5 separate regions of the Homo sapiens genome follow, and all the other regions are linked to region 4. Evidence: promoter capture Hi-C in 16 types of primary human blood cells and fetal thymus (Javierre and others, 2016). All regions are on one chromosome and are shown on one strand. The core of a region is centred on a gene start or on the middle of the fragment in contact, and the rest is flanking DNA. Distances in the headings are between cores, read along the strand shown. Region 1 has its middle 9.6 kb from the start of TRA2A. Region 2 holds the start of NUP42 (nucleoporin 42). Region 3 overlaps CCDC126 (coiled-coil domain containing 126). Region 4 holds the start of CYCS (cytochrome c, somatic). Region 5 overlaps TRA2A (transformer 2 alpha homolog).

Region 1 (2,700 bases), core at 73-2,572, 1.6 Mb after region 4:
ATGCATCAACTGATAAACATTTGAAATATTTCAACTTTTTGGCTATCATGAACAATGCTGCTATATACATTTGCATACAAGTTTTCATGTGAACAAACATATGTTTCCCTTCGGTATATACCTAGGAATGGGATTGCTGGGTCATACAGTAATTCTCTGTTTAAGTTTTTGAGGAACTGCCCATCTGCTTTCCAGAGAAGGTGCACCAGTTTACATTCCCACTAGCAGTGTATGAAGATTCCAATTTCTCCATATCCTTTTCAATACCTGTCATTGATTGTTCTTTTTTCAACGTTATAGTAGCCATCTTAGTAGGTGTAAAGTGGTATCTCATTGTGGTTTTAATTTGCATTTCTCTAAGACTCATGGTGTTGAGCATCTTTTCATATGTTCATTTGCCATTTATATATCATCTTGCTTTTTTTTTTTTTTTAGAGACAGGGTCTCCTTCTGTCACCCAGGCTGGAGTGCAGTGCTGCCACTGTAGCTCACTGCAGCCTCCAATTCCTGGGCCCAAGCCATCCCCCTACCTCAGCCTCCCACAGTAGCTAGGATTATAGACCCACACCAACATACCCAGCTAATTACAAAAATATATATATATATAATTCTAGCACTTTGGGAGGCTGAGGTGGGAGGATTGCTTGAGGCCAGGAGTTGTAGGCTGCAGTGGGCTATGAGGTGACAGAGCAAGCCCCTGTGCCCCCAAAACACCAAAAAACAAAAACAAAACAAGAAACTAAGAAAAAAAAATTTTACAGCAACAAAAGCTAACAATTTTTTAAAATTAAATAAAAAATGAAAAAAAAAACCAACAATTAGAAAATGAACAAAGGACTTCAGTAGATTTCTCCCTACGGAAGAGATATAGCCTGGGTATGGTGGCTCATGACTGTAATCACAGCACTTTGGGAGGCGAAGATAGGAGGATCACTTCAGGCCAGAAGTTTGAGATTAGCCTGAGAAATATAGTAAGACCCTGTCTCTATAAAAAATAAAATAAATAATAATATAATAAATAATTAATAAGTAAATTTTTTAATAGAGAAGGGGTCTCACTATGTTGCCCAGGCTTGTTTTTGCTTTTCTTTTTTTGAGACGGAATCTTGCTCTGTCGCCCAGGCTGGAGTGCAGTGGCGCGATCAAGGCTCACTGCAGTCTCCGCCTCCCGGGTTCACGCCATTCTCCTGCTTCAGCCTCCTGAGTAGCTGGGACTACAGGTGCCCGCCACCATGCCCGGCTAATTTTTGTGTATTTTTAGTAGAGACAGGGTTTCACCATGTTAGCCAGGATGGTCTCGATCTCCTGACGTTGTGATCTGCCCGCCTCAGCCTCCCAAAGTGCTGGGATTACAGGCGTGAGCCACTGCGCCAAGCCGCTTGTTTTTTCTTAAACTGTAAGCGTTATTTATTTACTCTAAATACTAGACCCTTATTAGACATATGATTTCTAAATATTTCTCCTTTTCAGTGGATTGTTTTTTCTCTCTGTTGATATTATCCTTTAATGCACAAAAGTTGTAAATTTTGATGTTCTAATTTACCTATCTTCTCTTTGAATGTGGTTGATCTTTCTCTCTTTCAGTGTTGAGATCTAGTTCCTAAGAACTGGCTAAATGCTATGGGTTAATTTTGTTGTGTTCTACTCTGAGTGCTTGAGGTGATAAAATGTTTGTTGGTTGGTTGTTTTTTTTCTTTTAAGACAGTGTCTTGCTCTGTCACCCAGGCTGAAGTGCAGTGGCACAAATACTGCTCACTGCAGCCTTGACCTCCTGTGCTCAAGTGATCCTTCTGCCTCAGCCTCCTGTGTAGTGGGGACACAGGCATGCACCACCACACCTAGCTAATTTTTTAAATTTTTTAGAGACAGGGTCCCACTTTGTTGCCCAGGTCTCAAACTCCTGGGCTCAAGCAGTCCTCCCACCTCAGCTTTGCAAAGTGCTGAGATTACAGGCTTGAGGTACTGGGGAGGCCACAAAATATATTTTTGGCCGAGCACAACAGCTCATGCCTGTAATCTCAGCACTTTGAGAGGCCGAGGCCAGGGGTGGGTCACTAGAGGTCAGGAGTTTGACACCAGCCTGGCCAACATGGCGAAACCCTGTCTCTACCAAAAATACAAACATTAGTTGGGCATGGTGGCAGGCGCCTGTAATCCCAGCTACTCGGGAGGCTGAGGCACGAGAATAACTTGAACCCAGGAGGAGAAGTTGCAGTTAGCAGAGACTGTGCCACTGCACTCCAGCCTGGGAGACAGAGCCAGACTCTGTCTCAAAAAATAACAGTAATAATATTAAAAAGAAGAGATAGCTCATGCCTATAACCCTAGTGCTTTGGGCATTCCCACATCCACCACTTTGGGTTTAATAAATTTGCTGGAGCAGCTCACAAAACTCAAAGAAACATTACAAAATATATGGTATGGGGGAAGGGGTGTGGAGCTTCCATGCCCTCCCTGGGCAAGCCACCCTCCAGGAACCTCCAAGTATTAGCTATCTGAAAACTCTGTGAACCCAGTCCTCCTGGGTTTTTATGGACAATTATTTGGAAATGTGATTGGCCTCTCTGGAATGAGGGTCTTATGACCCACAATCAGAAAGGCAGGGGAATAGTATTGAGTCCTGCCTTGGGTCAAGTGAAAGGAGTAGAGGAGAAGGTCAAAGAGGCCTGAGGCCTGCAAGAAGCCTAACACACCTAACAT
Region 2 (2,700 bases), core at 30-2,529, 1.9 Mb after region 4:
AATCGCTTGAGCCTGGGAGGCGGAGGTCGCAGTGAGCCGCCTGACTGAGAGAGCAAGACTCCGTCTCAAAATAAAATAAAAAAATAAAGGTCAGATGAATAGCCCTAAAGGAGGGGAAGGAAGGGAGACAGCACCGAATTATTAACCCGATCTTTAAAAATCTTGTGTTGTTCTAAGGTTTCATGTCTAATCTCTCCTTTCCTTGAAGATAAAAAGCTTTGACAATGATCTAGGCCCAGGGACTAGATCAACGTGGCCCCCGCATCTCCTTTCCTCACCTCCCGGATAGCCCTTAACTGGGCGTCCCACATTCCCAATTTCACCCCAAATTTATGAGCAGGTGCATTTTTGCGGTATGGCTCTATAGGTTTTATTAGATTTTCTTTTTTTCTTTTCTTTCTTTCTTTTTTTTTTTTTGATAGTCTCGCTCTGTCGCCCAGGCTGGAGTGCAGTGGCACGATCTCGGCCCACTGCAACCTCCACCTCCCGGGTTCAAGCGATTCTCCTGTCTCAGCCTCATGAGTAGCTGGGATTACAGGCGCGCGCCACCACGCCCGGCTATTTTTTTTTTTTTTTTTTTTTTTGGTATTTTTAGTAAAGACGGTGTTTCACTATGTTGGTCAGGCTGGTCTCAAACTCCTGACCTCGTGATCCGCCCGCCTCGGCCTCCCAAAGTGCTGGGATTACAGGCGTGAGCCACCGCCCGGCCGGTTTTATTAGATTTTTTCAAAGAAGTCCACGACTTCTCCAAAATGAAGTCCTGATTCTGACCCAAGCTGCTAGCCTCACCCTCGAAAAAACAACTTAGTAAAAATTATATTCAATTCCGGCATTTACCTACAAGGTAGTTTCGATAGGTACTTCCGATTTAAAAACTCAGTTTCGCACAAGCATCCAGGCCCAAACCCAGGTCCTCAGAAGCTCAATAAAAACGGACCACATGAATAATATGTAGATAAAACCCTCGGTTTAAAAACGTTGTGCAGGGCCCAGTAGGGCCGGCAAGGCCGCGACGCGGGCACGTTGGGGTCACCAGCAGCGGGAAACACGCGGGACGCCCGGTCCCCGCCGGCGGACCCTTCCCGGCTCGGTTACCGCGGAGGATTCAGAGGAGAGTCACCTGAAGGCTGCTGCTGCGGTTGCTGCCGTCCTCCTCCTGCACCCCTAGCACCGGGATGTTCGTTCCAGCACCGATCTCCAAAGCGGCACCGGCCTTGAAGGAAGAATTGACAAATGGCCATTGCGACGGCGTCGCTGACGGAGGGCGTCTTCAGTCTGCACCGTTCGATGCCTGTTACTGGGCAGAGAGCCCTAAGGCAACCTCGGCGCCCGGCCGGGCTACTGTGACGTCATCTTCTCGCGCCTGGGAAGGCCTTTTTCCGCCTCTCACCCGGCAGTGCCATGAGACGCATGGACTTGAGCCAATAGGACTTGAGAAGAGCGGACCGCTCTGACGCTTTGAGTGTGTCCTGGGAAGGAGGGATGCTTGAACGGTTACGTGAAGACCGGAGGCGCGTTTGACCCCGGTGCAGGGCCTCGGACTACAGGAAGGCTGGAGGTCCAAAATGAGAGGAAAGCGGAGCAAGCAAACGCAGAACTTCAGCAAGGCCCTCAGAGGAGAATTAGCTATGATTTGAGAGACTGAGTCGTTCTTGCTGAGACGGTAAAACTTAGCTTGGGCTGAGAAAGTAACAAACTGCCTAGCCTTTCATCTGGATGGATAACAGAGTCAAATAAAGCCAGACGACGTTAAGAGGAAACAATGTTTCTTTTAGGACATGCTGCAACGGAAAAGTATTACCACTTAAGTACATTCTTACTACACACTGAGAAACCTTGTTATTTCTTCTTTTTTTTTTTTTTTTTTGAGACGGAGTCTCGCTCTGTCGCCCAGGCTGGAGTACAGTGGCAGAGCTTGGAGGCAAGCTCTGCCTCCAAGGTTCATGCCGTTCTCGTGCCTCAGCCTCCCGAGTAGCTGGGACTACAGGTGCCCGCCACCACGCCCGGCTAATTTTTTTGTATTTTTAGTAGACACGGTTTCACCGTGTTAGCCAGGATGGTCTCTATTTTCTGACCTCGTGATCCGCCCGCGTCCGCCTCCCAAAGTGCTGCGATTACAGGTGTGAGCCACCGCGTCTGGCCGAAACCTTGTTCTTTCAAGTCCACATAAACGTTGCTATTTGAAATTATATCAGAACGAGTGAAAAGTCCCATCCTTGCCTGGAGGATCTAAGTCTCTTTGACGCAGAGAAGCAGCCTCAATTTCTATCCAGGTGTAGAGCTTCAGATAAACGGTTCTGAAAACATTCTGTATTTTCTTAACTTTGCAGTTTCCAAGGAAACATGCCCTACATTCAATTCTCGTCCAGACCTGATGTTAATGCCTTTACACACAGCTATGCTTTGAGATTTCATTTAAATTTCACCTAAACTTCACTCTCCCCGCCAAAACATACAATAACTACCTTTTATTTTGTACGGTGAGACACACCACAGCTCCTCTGGTGTGCAGTCTTCTTGATTGCAATAAGTCAATAGATCTGACTTTGTTGGATTACAGGTTTGTGCTGGTGGTTTTAGGATTATTGAGCTGGGAGTGAGCCATCATTCTTGCTCATGTAATTTGTTTGGATTTTGAAGACAGCAGAATCTACAGGACGGGAACTACTTGTCCAAACTAGTTTTTTATTTTCTTTAATC
Region 3 (2,700 bases), core at 121-2,620, 1.5 Mb after region 4:
ACAAATAGATGGCTAATCATACCTTAAAATCTCTCATTCAAATCTCATTTTTGCATCTATTCAGTGCTCTACATTTTGTGCCATTATAACTATAGCTAAAGTAACTATCAACAGCAATAGCAGCAACTAGCAGGCAGAGAAGCTTTCACTCAGCCAAAGGTACTAGAAGAACTACTGCCTATTAGTCTCCAAAGGAATTTCAGCTAGAGAGGCATAGATTTACTACAAAAAGACACAGTATGTTCACCACAGCTCAGAGGTTCAAATAGTTCTCTCCAAAAACGACCCAAAAAAAAGTCCTCCACAGACTTGACCCCGGAATGTAATTTCAGGGAAAAAGGGGCATTCCTAAAATATTTTCTCTATGTAACACTGCCTGAGGCTAATATGGTGGTGGGGGGGGGGGGGTTAACACAGAACACAGCCATTCGCTCCATAATAAGGTCTAAGATTTAAAATGCACTGCCTTGAGAGAAGCTACACTAAAATTCCAGCTAAGATACGGAAATAATGAGTGTCAAGATATCAGATCATTTTTAGATGGCACATTTGGGAGACAGAATAGAAGACAATAGCACTGAATATTACAAAAACAGATAAAAGAAAAATGGTAAAGTGAGGCAGGGATAAAAACAGAAAATGTTAAGGCAAAAAGAAAACTAACCATTATGCTACAGTAAAAGTTTAATTTAAAATATGGCCTGGCGTGGTGGCTCATGCCTGTGATCCCAGCACCTTGGGAGGCTGAAGAGGGCGGATCACTTGAGGTCAGGCATTCAAGACCAGTCTGGTCAACATGGTGAAACCCCATCTCTACTAAAAATACAAAAATTAGCCAGGCATGGTGGTGCATGCCTGTAAACCCAGTTACTTGGATGGCTGAGGTACAAGAATCGCTTGAACCTGGGAGGTAGAGGATGCAGTGTGCAGAGATCGCACCACTGCACTCCAAGCTGAGTGAAAGAGCAAGGCTGTCTCAAACTAAACTAACTAAACTAAAATATGCAATAAAATAAACTATGCAGGCCGGGCTCCAGGGCTCACACCTATAATCCCACCATTTGGGAAGCTGACATAGGCAGATCACTTGAGGTCAGAAGTTCAAGACCAGCCTGACCAACATGGTGAGACCCTGTCTCTACTAAAACTACAAAAATTAGCCAGGCATGAGGTACAAGAATTGCTTGAACCCAAAAGGTAGAAGTTGCAGTGAGCCAGCACCACTGCACTACAGCCTGGGTGACAGAGTAAGACTCTGTCTCAAAAAAAAAAAACAACAAAACCTATATATATACATATACATAGACACACACTATGCAGCACTAGATACTTCAATCACAGAGCTTCACCTGTCACAGCCGTGGCCAATCATGTTTTGTGCCACATGTCCCCACCTCCCCTTCCAAAGCCAACTAGGCTAGCATCTCTGGCCTCAAACAAAGAGGCCCCAGGGAAAACCAGGCAGTTGGCAGAAGGAGCTGAAGGAGAAGTCATGAAAATAAATAATAAAGTTGGATGAGGGGATTGACAAGCTAAAGTTATGAAGAATCAGGCACAACAGGTATAGGGGCTATGAGCAAAAGATACAGAGTAGGGAGAAAGAGAACAAAGCATGTCAAAAATGCAGAGAAACTGTGCAGCTCATGAGAGAGTGATAACTGGCTGGTAGAGATTCTTATTTCTGGCAGCTTTCTTGTTCTCTTAAATGTATTCCTTCTTTCAAGGTAGTTTGAAAGAATTATATGACCTGAAGCAGGAAGAAACACTAAGAACACAAATGACTAAAAGGGTTTACACAAATTTTGTTTCCACATTTAAAAAAAAACCTCTAAAAACCTTTATCATTGAAAGTCTGAGCTAGAAGAGTCCTTGGAATCAGACCAATTCACTATTTTAGAGATGAGGACATTGAGGACCACAAAGTAATCTCAGGTTACACAGATAGTGACAGAGCAAGGACAAAACTAAGGACTCCTATTTCCGTAGCCATTACTCTCTGTCCTACACTGCACTAAATAACACCAACATAGAAACATTTTCCTCAAAACAAGTATTTTTGCAACACATTTTAGAGTGAGAAATTATTAATCAGTGAGAAGATGCAGACAGATGTAGAAAAAAGTTGACCCAGGTTAAATATGGTGAAGCCCAGAGGCAGGACTGTAAAATACCTGGATGCCTACTCTGACGAAACAAACACTTAGCGCCTCTAAGGATTCCCAAAGGACACACCTGAGGGGGAGGGGAGAGGTGAATACTTGTACCTCTGAAGCTGATCCACAGAAAAGCAGAGTCATCAATTTCCTAAGAACATTCTCAGCCATCTTAAAACAGCAAAAATTAGGAAGACGGCATATTTTAATGAATCCTTTGGTTAGGTTTAAGATAAAGTGAAGAACACACAACCCAGGATGATTAAACAAACAAAAGCACAAAACTCAAGTCCAGAGGCCACTTCGGTCACTTCAGTCATAGCTAATGAAAGTATCACAAAGGATCTTTTCATCAAATGAAGAACTAATGACGTTATAGGTCTATATTCCTAATTCTAACCACTTACAGGTGTGTGTTTTGATGGATGAGAAAACTCAAGCTTAGAGCCTTTAAGTAACCAAGATCACCAAGGCAGGCAGTGAGAGAAACCCAGGCAGGATTCGAACCCTAGCTGGCTGAGCCATTCTCATTACCGTCACAGTCAAC
Region 4 (2,700 bases), core at 201-2,700:
ATATCTTGAGTAGAAAGACTTAGAGATTAACCTAACTTATCAAAAATAATAGCTATAACAACTTTTCAAGACATAGTATAATAATATATAAATAGAAACAAGAAAAAGTTTTAAAAGTGGGGAGAGTGAAGTTAAAGTGCAGAGTTTTTCTTAGTTTTCTCTTTGATTTTTGTTTATGCAATCAATGTTATGTTGTCATCAGTTTAAAACAATGGGTTATAAAATATTATTTGCCCTGGGCGTGGTGGCTCACACCTGTAATCCCAGCACTTTGGGAGGCCGATGCGGGTGAATCACCTGAGGTCAGGAGTTCGAGACCAGCCTGACCAAATAGTGAAACCCCATCTCTACTAAAAATACAAAAATTAGCTGGGCGTGGTGGTTTGCTCCCGTAGTCCCAGCTACTTGGGGGGCTGAGACATTAAATGGCGCCACTGAAGAAGAATGAATAAGGTCTAGTAATACAACAGGGTGACTACACTCAACAATAATTTATTGTACATTAAACAAACTAAAAGTATAATTGGATTGCTTGTAACAGAAAAAAAGGATAAATGCTTGAGGTGATGGATAGACCGTTTACCCTGATGTGATTATTATACATTGTATGCCTGTATCAAAATATCTCATGTACCTCTTAAGTATATATATATATTTACCTACTTCGTACTCATAAAAATTTTAAAAGGTACATAAATGTTATCATTGCATCCTCTTAATTTTATTTTTCAGTTCCAGAGGGATAATCCTGTCTCTGCCGCAAATGCAGCACCTTCCTCAGTCTTGGGGCGTCCATCAAGCGGAGAGCTGGAATGTGACTGAAAGTAACAGAGTATAGGTGGAACTAGAACAAGGTCACGAGCTGGTGCCCAACTCGTGTAACTCCTGGTTCCAGGCTGTCCCTCTAGGATGCTGTTGGCGCCAGCCGTGGTAGTAGGACAGAGTCTGGGTAAAGGTCGCCTGCTGACAAGATGGTAGCTAGGAGACCTCTAGGTGCGCCAAAATTAGGGCGTCTTTTCCTGGACCGGCAAAACGCCCTGCTCAAAGCTCATTACATCACCACGCCCAAGAACTGATACTTTAGCAGGGCAACGCACCAACCAAGCGACTCCGCCCCACCCTCCCCGCTCCTCCAGCACACGCAAGCGCACAGAGGCCCGCGAGTGACGTCACCTCTCCCGACACCACCTCGTTGTCGTACGACCAAAGGCCTGTCGTAACGGCCGGGAAAAGCCTCGAGAAGAAGGGCACGCACGCCGTACACCCTAACATGCTCGCCAGCATGCGCGCGCAGGTCCTTGGCGCAGGCATTGGGACTGGAGCCAATGAGGTGCGGCGACGTTACTGCGTAGCCGCCAGCTCGGCCGCACGTCAGGGCGCGGGAGCGCGGAGCGAGTTTGGTTGCACTTACACCGGTACTTAAGCGCGGACCGGCGTGTCCTTGGACTTAGAGAGTGGGGACGTCCGGCTTCGGAGCGGGAGTGTTCGTTGTGCCAGCGACTAAAAAGAGGTGAGAGCGGGTCGCGGAGGCCGCACCTGGTTAGAGGCAGAGCTGTGGGAGGCGCGCACTTGCGAGCGACCGAAACCCAAGCGGGGAGCATTCGAGTGGAGCCCGCGCTGGGTGGGAGGGCGGGGAGTGAAGACCCTGGACTGTGGTCAGACCGAGCTGGGCGAGTAACGGCTTGAGGTGCGGCGGAGCCCTAACTAGGGACAGGTATGGTCTCGGTCAGGGACTGGAGGCGGCTTGGATACAGATCCGAGGAGGAGGCGGCCTCTTCCGTAGTGGTTGCTGAAGGGCTATGGAAATGATAGGCAAGACTTCCCTCCTGGAAAGCCGAAGCTTAGAGCTTCACGTTCTTCTTCAGAGGGCAAAAGCTGTTGCTCTTCTAATAAGGGGCCAGTTCTTTTCGTGGGCACATGTTTCTTCCGTCAGTCGTTCTGACATCCTAGAAGGAGTTTCATCAATCACCTTGAAACCGACCTGGACGGGTGACCTCGTGGTCGCCCCAGGAGATCACAGGTAGGGGAGTTGGGATGTCCCCGGGGGACCGTGCAGCCTGCCCCTGAGCTCCCATTCACAAGTTCGAGTGTCAAGCTACTCCTGTGACCTGGGCAGATAGAAACAGCCAGGACCGCTTTTTAAACATTTGTGTGCTTTGCGTTATCCTCAGGGAGAGGTGGCTTTACATTGTAGTAAGATTAAATGGTTAGGTCTTTTTAAAAGTTGCGGTTGTGGTGATTTTGGCTTAATGTGTTCGCCCTTGAGCTTCAGATCTGTGACTTCGTGACCATGATTGTCTCTTCTGAAACTGGAGTTTGAATTAGGTTCCCTCTTTGCTTGGGCTTTAACGTTCCTTCACGTATACACACAAAAATACGTTTTTGAGGAGGTACTCCTAAAAATGTTTTTGGTATTAAAGAATATTTGGTATAAAGAGTATTAAAGCAAAACAAGATTCATTCTGGTATTTAATGACATAAATTAGCAATGGATTGGTAATTAAGTGGCTAGAGTGGTCATTCATTTACACTGTATTTGTTACCTGAGGAAAAATTTACTAAGTTGAAGCTTTCGTTTTTAGAATTAAATATGGGTGATGTTGAGAAAGGCAAGAAGATTTTTATTATGAAGTGTTCCCAGTGCCACACCGTTGAAAAGGGAGGCAAGCACAAGACTGGGCCAAATCTCCATGGTCTCTT
Region 5 (2,700 bases), core at 124-2,623, 1.6 Mb after region 4:
CACTTTGGGAGGCTGAGGCGGGCAGATCACTAGAGGTCAGGAGTTTGAGACCAGCCTGGCCAACATGGGAAAACCCCATCTCTATTAAAAATACAAAAATTAGCCAGGCAAGGTGGTGCATGCCTGTAATCCCAGCTGCTCAGGAGGCTGAGGCAGGAGAATCACTTGAACCCAGGAGGTGGAGGTTGCAGTGAGCCTAGATCGCACCATTACACTCCAGCCTGGGTGACAGAATGAGACTCCTCCTTCTTAAAATAAATAAGCTAACATCTCTTAAAAAGACATTCTATCATACCATAATGCTTTGTTGCTACTCCAAAACTGGGATTTAAAATTGGAATTTTAAGATGTTACTGAATTATCTTGTTTACTTTAATAAAAGGTTTTTATTTCCATCCTAGTAAAATTAAAGAATTGTAGTGTTTTACAGAGCAAAGCCTCCTGTGTATGTTTGAGAAGGACTGTAGCAGCGTTCGTAGATAATAATCCAGCTATTGCTATTCAACAGTAGCATAAATGAATGTTATGTCACAGGGTCTGTTTTGTGGAAAGGAAAGCCAAAAGAGAAGAGGGGAAGATACTCTTATGAGTTTGATTAATGAACCAGTCTGTGAAACTTAAATTACAAGCAAATTAGCCATGCCTTTTTTTATAAGATACTGAATATGCTGCTTTCATAGTTTCAGTGAATGAAAAAGCCCAGATTGCTATGCCTGCTCCAGACATCTGTTGAGTGGTTTAGAGTATCTGAGATGCAGTGAAAGACTTGTAGGTAGCTAAATGGGAAAGGTTGGTATTGAGCTGAAAGGTAGCTGTGTATTTCAGTTTTGTTTTTATCTGAAAGAAAATGACCAGGTGGCATTTGTACAGTTCTTGATAAATAAGTCTTGACATTAAACTTGAAGCAAAGGAAAAGTTTTCAGAAAGCTGTTTGAGTTGTGTGATAGTCTTAAGGCATAAATAAATTGGTGTGAAATTACTTCTGTGAAATTGAGATAATTATTTACACTGATAATCAAGGCTTAACTGGACACAGAAACCAAGCTGTCCATCCTGTTTTGATCATAAGTGCCTCATATCTGTGCAGTTAAAAAAAACAAGCTTATGATCAGTAAGTTATTTTATTTGGAATGCTTTGATTTACACCCAATTTTTTCAGAAACCCATCACTTTTTGGATATAGAATATAGTCACTGAAGGGAGTACCAGTATACATAAATGCATAAATTATGTAAAAACTGAACATAATTCTAAAGAGATGGAATCAAAGATAAAGACTATGATATAAATTTTGTACCTTCTTGCACATTGTGGTATGTCGTGGATAATAGAGCATTTTAAAGTGATCTGGTTGCAAAAATGTGTATATCAGGAATTAATAAGCTAATGGGGAAATTTTAAGAATTTCATGCTTATTAGTTTTTTCGGTATGTTTGTCTTCAGAACATATTTTAAGTCAGAATGAGCAAAGATAGTAGTCAAAGTTGGGAGAAGGTGTAATTTTACTGATTTTTTTCTTTTTGACTTATTTGAACCTTGACATGTGCTATGGGTGAGTTTAGATAGGTGTGTACAAATATTTCAGCCTGGGATGCCTTGCTCTAACTATATCTTGATTTCTTAGCATGACTTAGTGAAAGCTTATTTTTAAGAATCTTCAGATTATAAAGTAGTGAAAATTTAACACTTAGGTGGGGGGAAATTATAGTTGTTAGATTTATATTTGAATTATATTAAAATTGCTCACATTTTAGGAACTAGAATGAAACATGGGAGGAGGGTGAAGAGTATGGTTTAAAAAGCATTTAGAGAAATTTAGTAAATTCTCTTTGTTAGAAACTAGAGTTTTGAACAATTTTAAAGACTATAAAATTGTTTTTTTTTTTTTTTTTTAAATAAACTAGTTACTTGCACTTTACCTGCTGGCTTTTCCATTTGGTAGATAACATTCTGAACTCCAGCAGAGTTTTATAATCCCCACGTGCTTAAATATACTAAATGTTCTTTTTCCATTAAGGTTAATGTTCGTGAAGAAATTGAAGAGTTTTTTCCAAGAATGTGGAAGATAAATCAAGATAAAAGAAGGCTAATGAAAAGTATTAAAGATCAGAAAATTAAAATTGAATGGGGGAAAAAATTGAACAGAAGATTGGTCAGATAGAAGCACTTGAATATTTTTTTAAGGCTATTTTGAATTGTTTGAATTGGGGAAGAATACACGAAGTATGAAAAATGAAAAACTCAATGAAGAATGAAGAGAAGTAGAAAGCAAGAGTGAAGTAGAATTAAAAGAATCTGGAAGAATGAATGGGTCCTAGGTTAAGTAAATGTATGGTTTATGTTCCAGTGTCTGTATGATCAAGTTGTAGATGAATTTGCATGATTACTTAGTTAATAGAGAATTGGTGATCTGGTTCAAGTAGGGAATTATTGAGGACAGTTAGCAGTATTAACAGTGGGTTATTATTGAGCTGAAATTTTTTCTGGAGGGTGTTGTCTAACCATTTGTTTTTCAGGAGCAATCAATATAAATAATTACGGTACTTTAAATGTTAGGTGTTAGGCATCTACATGACCAGTGCCATTTGTAATACTGTCTTCTTTGTTAGGAGTCTCGCTCTCAGTCAAAATCTCCAACGGGAACTCCTGCTCGTGTAAAATCGGAGAGCAGGTCAGGATCTCGTAGTCCATCAAGGGTTT

Evidence for each region. The method cuts DNA at HindIII sites, captures the fragments that hold promoters and counts their contacts. A CHiCAGO score of 5 or more calls a contact.
Region 1: a contact is called between a fragment that was not itself captured here and the fragment with the promoter of CYCS in region 4, in 1 of 17 cell types (naive CD4 T cells). The highest score is 5.7, in naive CD4 T cells.
Region 2: a contact is called between the fragment with the promoter of NUP42 here and the fragment with the promoter of CYCS in region 4, in 3 of 17 cell types (naive CD8 T cells, fetal thymus and total CD8 T cells). The highest score is 6.8, in naive CD8 T cells.
Region 3: a contact is called between a fragment that was not itself captured here and the fragment with the promoter of CYCS in region 4, in 3 of 17 cell types (monocytes, non-activated CD4 T cells and activated CD4 T cells). The highest score is 6.1, in monocytes.
Region 5: a contact is called between a fragment that was not itself captured here and the fragment with the promoter of CYCS in region 4, in 1 of 17 cell types (fetal thymus). The highest score is 6.6, in fetal thymus.

The regions. Positions count from the first base shown.
Region 1 is chr7:23,540,226-23,542,925 of GRCh38, reverse strand. No RefSeq gene overlaps it. Among named protein-coding and RNA genes, the nearest start is that of TRA2A, 9.6 kb to the right of the region's middle. The HindIII fragment of the contact is 3,051 bases long and covers 1-2,700 here.
Region 2 is chr7:23,180,627-23,183,326 of GRCh38, reverse strand. It overlaps NUP42 (nucleoporin 42), which reads right to left and starts at 1,279. Exons shown (of 7, transcript NM_007342.3): 1 at 1,121-1,279. The coding sequence starts at 1,241. RefSeq lists enhancers at 915-984, 1,085-1,684. The HindIII fragment of the contact is 4,881 bases long and covers 219-2,700 here.
Region 3 is chr7:23,598,083-23,600,782 of GRCh38, reverse strand. All of the region lies in intron 2 of CCDC126 (coiled-coil domain containing 126), which reads right to left. Among named protein-coding and RNA genes, the nearest start is that of CCDC126, 2.1 kb to the right of the region's middle. The HindIII fragment of the contact is 2,451 bases long and covers 145-2,595 here.
Region 4 is chr7:25,124,010-25,126,709 of GRCh38, reverse strand. CYCS (cytochrome c, somatic) reads left to right here and starts at 1,450. Exons shown (of 3, transcript NM_018947.6): 1 at 1,450-1,510; 2 at 2,583-2,700. The coding sequence starts at 2,591. It also overlaps a transcript of SPMIP4 not described here. RefSeq lists enhancers at 1,040-1,289, 1,437-1,980, 1,981-2,525. The HindIII fragment of the contact is 6,168 bases long and covers 1-1,842 here.
Region 5 is chr7:23,521,750-23,524,449 of GRCh38, reverse strand. It overlaps TRA2A (transformer 2 alpha homolog), which reads left to right. Exons shown (of 8, transcript NM_013293.5): 2 at 2,610-2,700. Among named protein-coding and RNA genes, the nearest start is that of TRA2A, 8.9 kb to the left of the region's middle. The HindIII fragment of the contact is 539 bases long and covers 1,104-1,642 here.